Regions from separate parts of the Homo sapiens genome. Here all the other regions are linked to region 2. Evidence: promoter capture Hi-C in human tissues and cell types (Jung and others, 2019). All regions are on one chromosome and are shown on one strand. The core of a region is centred on a gene start or on the middle of the fragment in contact, and the rest is flanking DNA. Distances in the headings are between cores, read along the strand shown. Region 1 has its middle 5.4 kb from the start of ELF1. Region 2 holds the start of NAA16 (N-alpha-acetyltransferase 16, NatA auxiliary subunit). Region 3 overlaps ELF1 (E74 like ETS transcription factor 1).

Region 1 (2,700 bases), core at 32-2,531, 290 kb before region 2:
CTTTGTTTGAATCCGCCCCATAGGTCGGGAGCTAACATGCTATGACTATCAGAGATGGAAAAAGAAAAGATCACACCATTAAAATGGCAAATGACCAAAATCAATGTTCCCCACTATTTAAATAGAAAAATAAAATTCAGAAGACTGAGATTGAGTGTTATGAATCTTTCAATCATGCAGAATTTATTTTGTTGATGTTAATGCCTCTCAAAAATATAATCCCAGGTTCCAAGAATTGTGTAGAATTTCTACATGTGAGCTTAAACGTAAAACACAGTTAATTTTCTATGCTCTATCACTAGCTTTGTTAAACCAAATCCTCTTTCCCACTTCTGCACGGACAGGTAACTAGGTGGTACTTTTTACCACCCACAAAAAGCAGGCCTCTTAGGCAACAGTCTATGTATTTTCAGGGGCTTATCAAAGGCAAAAGGGGCCATGGCTTTTGTCTGCACTATATTCCCATCACCTAGGACAAGGCCCAAAACTCAGCAGAAATTCAGAGACATGAATGAGTGACTTTCCTAAAACTGCTCACTGAGGGGAAAAATGTAGCATATCAGGATTTTCGTAAACATTGAAATATCTTTAAAGACATGACTTGGCCCCTATGACTTGATATAGACAAATTCAAGGTTCTATTGCAGGTATTATTCTGGGTATTACTGTTTCCTCTGATATTAAAAATAACCAAGAATTGATGGTATGATTATATTCTTTATAAAGCTCCCAGGTAATATGCTGACTGCAATCTCAAGTTGTTTGTATAGACATATTTTATCTCTCATAATTAAATTTTAAATTCAATATTAAAAATAATGTATCTTTTACTTCAGTAGCCTGTAACCAGGAATGTACCCCTGAAGGAGCTTTATGAAGACACATGCCAACTCCTGGAAATGGATTCAGTAGTGCAGGTGGAGGTCAGGCTTATGAGAACCACTGCTGTTTTTGTTTGTTTGTTTGTTTGTTTTGGGGGGGGTGGCTGTTTTTGTTTTTTGAGACAGAGTTTTGCTCTGTCACCCAGGCTGGAGTGCAGTGGCAGGACCTTGGCACCTCAGCGTAAAGCAATTTCTGCCTCCCAGGCGATCCTCCCACCTCAGCCTCCTGAGTAGCTGGGACTACAGGCATGCACCACAATGTGGTTATTTTTTGTATTTTTTTGTATTTCTGGCTAATTTTGTATTTTGTATGTCTGGCTAATTTTTGTATTTTTTTGTAGAGGCAGGGTTTTGCCATGTTGCCAAGGCTGGTCTCAAACTCCTGAGCTCAAGCGATCCGCCTGCCTCGGCCTCCCAATGTGCTTGGATTACAGGCATGAACAACCACACATGGCCACCATTGCTGTGTTTCTATGTAGCCCTAGCATCTACTGTAGTTACTGCTCTTCACACAGCAGCCACTCAAAGACATTTGTTAACCTACTATTCAATAATCTCTAAATGTTGCAGAGAGGAAATCTAATTTTTATACTGAGTTTAAAGTGAAACTTAAGCTCCTCCTTTGCTACTCTTCAGGTAAAAAAGTACTCATCATATCACAGGAAAAGTAACATCACAGTCTCCTCCTAACTGACAGAATCTTTCTCTACCACCAACTGCCTACTTTAAATTCACCCATCACTCTGCTATTAGAGAAGTCTTCCTAAAGAACAACTCTGAGAGTGAAATGATTATCACTTATGGCCCAAAAAACAAAAAGAAATAAAATAACTGATTTCTTAGAGGCAAAATTAAAAGCCAGACTATTATGGCGTTCAAGGCTTTCACAATCTGACTTTAATTTCCCTAACTTTTCCAGCCCTATCTTCCTGACTCTCCCTCACTCCCTAGCCCCTGACAGCTGTACGGAAATTTCCTGAATTGCTCCATTCCTATTTGTCTCACTTCCTTATCACTGTTCCCTGGGCCTGAAAAGCACTTACCTTATTTCCTATCCTATGCCCGACCTCTGCCTATGAACATCCATCCATCAAGTCTCAATTTCAATGCCTCCTCTACAGAAGGATCTCCTCAACAGCCCCACTTACAATTACTGTGAGAACTGGTTATCGCAGAACTGAAAGAGACCTTAGAGACACTTTATCCAGTCCAGTGGTTTCTAAACTTTTTACTTAAGCAGCTGAATTTTTATAAAGGCTTCAAGGAACCTTGACACTCCATACATTTAAGTCTTCACTGTAGGACAGCTTAAAACACGAATCCAATCCAGTCTCATTTTAAAAATAGAGATAAGAGGTCTGTACAAAGTGACTTCCCAATGTCAAGTTAGTGACTGATTTGAGGGACTCTTTGTCATTCATTTAACAAATATTTACTCAGCACTTACTATGTGCCAGGTACTGTTCTAGCCCCTTGCTAGACAGCAAACAAAAGAGACATACTGCTGATAAATAAACCCTATTCGGCCTGTGCAGAAGACAGATGAATCTAGGAGAATCACGGTGGATTATCATAAGCTTAACCAAGTGGTGACTCCGATTGCAGCTGCTGTACCAGATGTGAGCTCATTCTTTACCCTCAACAGATCTCCTGGTATCTGTTACATACAGCTATCAATCTGGCAAATGCCTTTTTCCCCCATACCTGTCCATGAGGCCCACCAGAAGCAGTTTCCTTTCAAATGGCAAGGCCAAAAATACCTTCACTGTCCTAACTCAGGGATATATCAACCCCCTAGACCTATGTTCACAGGGATCTT
Region 2 (2,700 bases), core at 110-2,609:
ATCGCTTGAACCTGGGAGGCGGAGGTTACAGGGAGCTGAGATAGCGCCATTGCATTCCAGCCTCGGCAACAAGAACAAAACATCGTCTCAAAAAAAGGAAAATAAAAAAGGGCAGCCCAGTTCTGATTACAGCCGACTAAATGCAGTTACTCATCAATTACTTTATAGTCTCAGAAATATGCACCCATTAAGATTCAGCACATGTATAAATAAACTTATGTACCTAATGTTTACACACACCTTACTACTAACCCTACACTGAATGTATGGTTTATTCTTGCCACTGTTGTATCTTTCTAGACTCACACATTACCATCAATATGCTGCCTTTTATTTGTTGTAGAGAGTATCCCAGAGTTGGAAGATCCTGAATTTGAAGCCTGTTTCTCCCATTATTATATGGCTTTCAGGAAGGGGAACCATCTGAAGAGAAAGGGTAGGTAGACTCAGAAGACCAGTGGCCTTATAAAACCGTAATTCCGGCCAGGTGTGGTGGCTCACGCCTGTAATCCCAGCACTTTCGGAGGTTGACGCGGGGGCGGATCACGAGGTCAAGAGATCAAGACCATCCTGGCCAACATGGTGAAAGCCTGTCTCTACTAAAAATACAAAATTAGCCGGGTGTGGTGGCGCATGCCTGTAATCCCAGCCACTCGGGAGGCTGAGGCAGGAGAATCCTTTGAACTCAGGAGGCGGAGGTTGCAGTGAGCCCAGATAGCGCCACTGCACTGCAGCCTGGGCGACAAGAGCGATACTCCATCTCAAAACCAACCAACCAAACAAAAACAAAGATTGTAAATGTTTGTTTGGTTTGCCCTGGAAAGAGAAGGCTTCTACTTAGAGTCTGAATCAAGGAGGAAAAGGAAAGAAAACAAGTTCATCTTTCATCAAAAGTCTACTTTGCATCGGACACTTAAATTCCTAAATGGGGAGAAATGCAAAAAACTCTGACTCTTCAGAGTCATAACTAACATTATCTTGCGCCACAAGCTTATCAAGAGTGCAATACAAGTCAGTGTCTTCTCTTTTCTACTTAAAAGAAAATTCTCGTTTTTATTTATTACTTTATTGCAAGGAGAAGCAGACAATAAGTAGGAGTCTTATGAGGCGTTCTGATGCATAGGAGCAATGGTGAATGAGGGTGGTGACTCACCACCCCATGGGACTCCAAGGTTTTGGTGACAGCTCGCCTGAGCCCCAGGGGGTGCCGAGATTGCGGCGAGGAGAGCCGCAGCACAAGGCAAATCCACGCGGTTGGTCCCCGCTACGCCCCCGTAGTCACCCGCAGCCCCTCGCCAAAGGGCGCTCCGCGCATGCGCACAGGATCCGGCTCGGGAGGCGGACCCTGGCTGCCATCTTGCAGTGCGCGGGAACCGCCGCCGCCGCCGCTGGCCAAAAAGCGGAGCCCAGGGGAAGCGTGTCCTGCTCAGACCGCCTTCCTTCTCCATTGCCACCCGTGCCGAACAGCCAGGCTGCCCAATTGCAACTGTAGACCAATGAACTAATCCATCGCCCGCAGCCCGACTCTCAGCAGCGGTTCGTCCCGGTGCCCACCCCCGCGAAGCGGAGCGCCCGGGCACCTAGCCTCCCTGCCGGCCACCTAGCCTCCCTGCCGGCCACGATGCCGAACGTGCTGCTGCCGCCCAAGGAGAGCAACCTCTTCAAACGCATCTTGGTGAGTGGCCGTAGGCCGCGCTGCCGCCCCCCGGTCCCCGGGTCCTCGGGCCTTAAGGGCAAGCGGTCTGGCGGCGGCCGGCGCGGGCCAGGCTTGGCCTCCGCTGCCCACCGCTCTTTGTTTACCTCGGAGGTCGCGGGACCCCACTTTCCCGCTCCGGCCGGCCCACGGGGGCTGCCGAGCCGCTCCTCCGTGCGCTTCCTTTCCGCGGTCTTCTGCGGCTCGCCTCACCCCCGCCGCGCTCTTTCCAGAAACTTCACGCCGCTCTCCGCAGTGCCCGGGCACAGCCGCCTCGGCCGGTAGTGGCTGCCGTGCTCTCTGCCGCGCCGGGCTCGCAGCAGCCCCTCAGGGATCCTCCCCCGGTGGTTTATTTTGCCAGTCTCTCCTCGGCTAGGTGTTTTGCGTTCTGCATTCTCTGCTTTGCGTTTAGTTAGATTGCACAGCACACCCGCATACCTATTAAAGCGGGATCGATGCGATGGTGGAATTTTTCCTGGTTACGAGGAAATAAAACCGGCAACTTTAGGAAGCCAGGCCTGGCACCACCTCCCTTTGGGAAAAAGTTTGCCTGTTTGTAATGTACCTTATTTACCTCTTTGGAAGTGAATATTTGACTTGAAGTGCGTTTCTGAGTTGTCACCAACTTCAAAACAGCTGTTTGCTTTTTAGTCGCACAGGCCTTGCTTGAGTAATTAAAGCCGCGTGGACTGGCTGGTTTTGCATTTGAGGGGAGCATTTTTACTTTATCGCGGAGCAGAAGCCTGAATAATGGCCCCGTAGTGATGACCGCTGCGGAGCCGGGTGGGCAGTTTTCTGTGGGCTGTGTGCCAGCGTCCCTGGTAGCTTTCCAGGTTCTGTTCTTCCAAGGAGAAGAGGCAGCATTCCTTTGCTTTCCTCAGTATCCTCTGGCTACCCTAGGTTTTAAACTAATATTGTTAGTAGGTAACTGTCTTTTCTAGTTTATCTTTTCACCTGAAAAAAAGCTTTTATTTGCTAAACATGCATTTAGGTTTAAAGGTGAATTT
Region 3 (2,700 bases), core at 160-2,659, 350 kb before region 2:
AACTAGGAGGCTCAAAAATTATACTATAGAAGCCAGGCCTGGTGGTATGTGCCTGTAGTCCCAGCTACCTGGAAGGCTGAAACAGGAGGATGGCTTGAGCCCAGGAGTTCAAGGCTGTCCTGTGCTACAATCCCATCTGTGAATACCTACTGTACTTCAGCCTGGGCAACACAGCAAAACCCTGTCACTGAAAAAAAAAGAAAGAAAAAAATTATACCGTAACTCACATAAATACACTTCACACACCTTAAAGAAAAGTGTAGCTAGCCTTCCCTTTCCCTTTTTTGACAGGTAAATTGTAGACATGCAATCCCACCTAGCATAAACATGGACTTGTTAAAACACTTTTCCTTTTCTTCTCTTCTAAAAGCTCAATTAAGCTCCTGGTCTTCTAACAAGGCTTAGTCCAGAATTAAGCACTTTTATGCTGCAAAAACCCATGTACAAGGTAGGAACAGAGCTCATCACTTCATCCACTGATAAGTCAGAGACAGGCGTGTAAAATGCAATTCACAGGAGCAGTTCTCACCCAAATGAAACCAAAGTATTCCTCCCTAACCAAATCTATTTGGCTCCTGTAGCTTGGGTAGAGAGTGCTAATGTGTACATAACAAGGGATACTTCCAAATTTTTGAGTCTATACAGTTCTTGAGTTTTGGTTAACCACAGATACTTGTTACTACTTTATTCCTTGTCCTGTTCTACTAACCAGTAGTTACTCTATTCTCCAGAATTCTCCTTTATAATCAATGTCACTTCTACCACAGTGCCCTTCCCAGAGGCAATCACTGCTACCAATTTCTTTGTTCTGTTACTGTACAGACAGTAAATGTACAGTCAGGCATACTCCAAATTGCTTTAAACAATCATAATTAAATTCAGTTTAAATTTAATAATTTTTAAACTATTTAATAAGGAAAATTTCAAACACACAAACGTCAAGAGAAAAAAACGTTTCCTTTGAAGCAAAAGGTTTATTAAGAATGAAAAGTAGTTTTGAAGTCTTTGGGATTAAAAAAAGAGAGTGGCCAGGAGTGGTGGCTCATGTCTGCAATCCCAGCACTTTGGGAGGGCAAGGTGGGTGGATCACTTGAGGTCAGGAGTTCGAGATCAGCCTGGCCAACACGGTGAAACCTTGTCTTTACTAAAAAAATACAAAAAATGAGCCAGTCATGGTGACGGGCACCTGCAATCCCAGCTACTTAGGAGGGTGAGGCAGGGGAATGGCTTGAACCTGGGAGGCGGAGGTTGCAGTGAACCAAGGTCGCACCACTGCACTCTGGCCTGAGTGAAGAAGACTGTCTCAAAAAAAAAAAAAAAAAGAAGAAGAAGAATGAAAAGAGACACATGGTTCTGTGATTTAGAAGGCAGCCACATGTAGCAGAAAAGAAAAACTGGGAACCAGGAGACCTAGGGCCTTCTCCAACCCTGATTTCATGACCTTATTTTCTGAACCTTTAAATGAATGAAGAGCACCAGTTGATCCTACAGGCCCTTCCAGGTTTTGCTTTGTTAATATTTTGAATTCATGGATTCTACTGTCTGAGCTTATAACATTTCACGAGAAGAGATTATTCACTCTTACACACTAAAATGGGAGAGTAGCATGCACTGTGGCCACATAGCTGCTGCCATTGCTATTAACCAACATTTAATATGCACGAGACATTTTGCACATTGCTTTACGTGAATTATCACTCTATTTAATCATCACAAAATGCTATGATGGAGACACACTGGACTATCCATTTTACACATGAGAAAACAGAGGCAAGGGAAATAATCTACTCCAAGTCATAAACCTAACTTGAACTGACTCCAGGGTCCATGTCCTTTACTTATACACTATTGTAGTCAGCTTTAAACATAGTAGATTTGTTCTGCTGGCATACTTACTTGGCTCTGTTTAGAAAACCAGAATAATTAAGGAGCTGTGTTTGAGGTGGAGGTATGAGTTTCACTATTATTTCCAAGGCTTCACCAATCAGAGTCTATAACAAAATTTCTCATGGGAATAGCCAGTTCTTCTTGGTCAGCAGGGCACTTCCCAGGATCACTCCTAATTTAGTCCTACAGCCTTCTCCTTCTGAGGTACTTGCTTTTATCATGAAAGGCATGGTCCATTCTTTTCTAGTCCACTGACATGGGATGTATATTCAAAGTTGTTCATCTCTCGTTTCCCCAGGATGCTATTAATCCATATATAAGAAAGAGACCAACTTCAGATTTTCATAAGAATATGAATAGTTAGGTGCTGGGCGCAGTGGCTCACGCCTGTAATCCCAGCACTTTGGGAGGCCGAGGCGGGCGGATCACGAGGTCAAGAGATTGAGAACATCCTGGCCAACATGGTAAAACCCTGCCTCTACTAAAAATACAAAAATTAGCTGGGCATGGTGGCATGAGCCTATAGTCCCAGCTACTCAGGAGGATGAGGCAGGAGAATCACTTAACCCAGGAGGCAGAGGTTGCAGTGAGCCAAGATCGCACCACTGCACTCCAACTTGGGTGACGGAGCAAGACTCCGTCTCAAAAAGAAAAAAAAAAAGAAAGACTATGAATAAGTCAGGTAAGAGGCTTGAATCTGTATATACAAAATACATTTAGGAAACACCTCTCAGGTGACTAGAAAGATTCTTCCCACTCTACTACCATAAATAGAAAAAAAATGCACACTCCTGAAACTCCAGCTGCTGATCT

The links. The method cuts DNA at HindIII sites, captures the fragments that hold promoters and counts their contacts. A contact is called where the count stands out against the background at its distance.
Region 1: a fragment that was not itself captured here is called in contact with the fragment with the promoter of NAA16 in region 2 in 1 of the 25 tissues and cell types used here (lymphoblastoid cells).
Region 3: a fragment that was not itself captured here is called in contact with the fragment with the promoter of NAA16 in region 2 in 1 of the 25 tissues and cell types used here (lymphoblastoid cells).

The regions. Positions count from the first base shown.
Region 1 is chr13:41,023,340-41,026,039 of GRCh38, forward strand. It overlaps a transcript of ELF1 not described here. Among named protein-coding and RNA genes, the nearest start is that of ELF1, 5.4 kb to the left of the region's middle. The HindIII fragment of the contact is 4,987 bases long and covers 1-2,700 here.
Region 2 is chr13:41,309,908-41,312,607 of GRCh38, forward strand. It overlaps NAA16 (N-alpha-acetyltransferase 16, NatA auxiliary subunit), which reads left to right and starts at 1,360. Exons shown (of 20, transcript NM_024561.5): 1 at 1,360-1,675. The coding sequence starts at 1,622. It also overlaps a transcript of MTRF1 not described here. The HindIII fragment of the contact is 7,787 bases long and covers 1-2,700 here.
Region 3 is chr13:40,961,375-40,964,074 of GRCh38, forward strand. The region is part of intron 2 of ELF1 (E74 like ETS transcription factor 1); the gene reads right to left. Among named protein-coding and RNA genes, the nearest start is that of ELF1, 57 kb to the right of the region's middle. The HindIII fragment of the contact is 6,199 bases long and covers 1-2,700 here.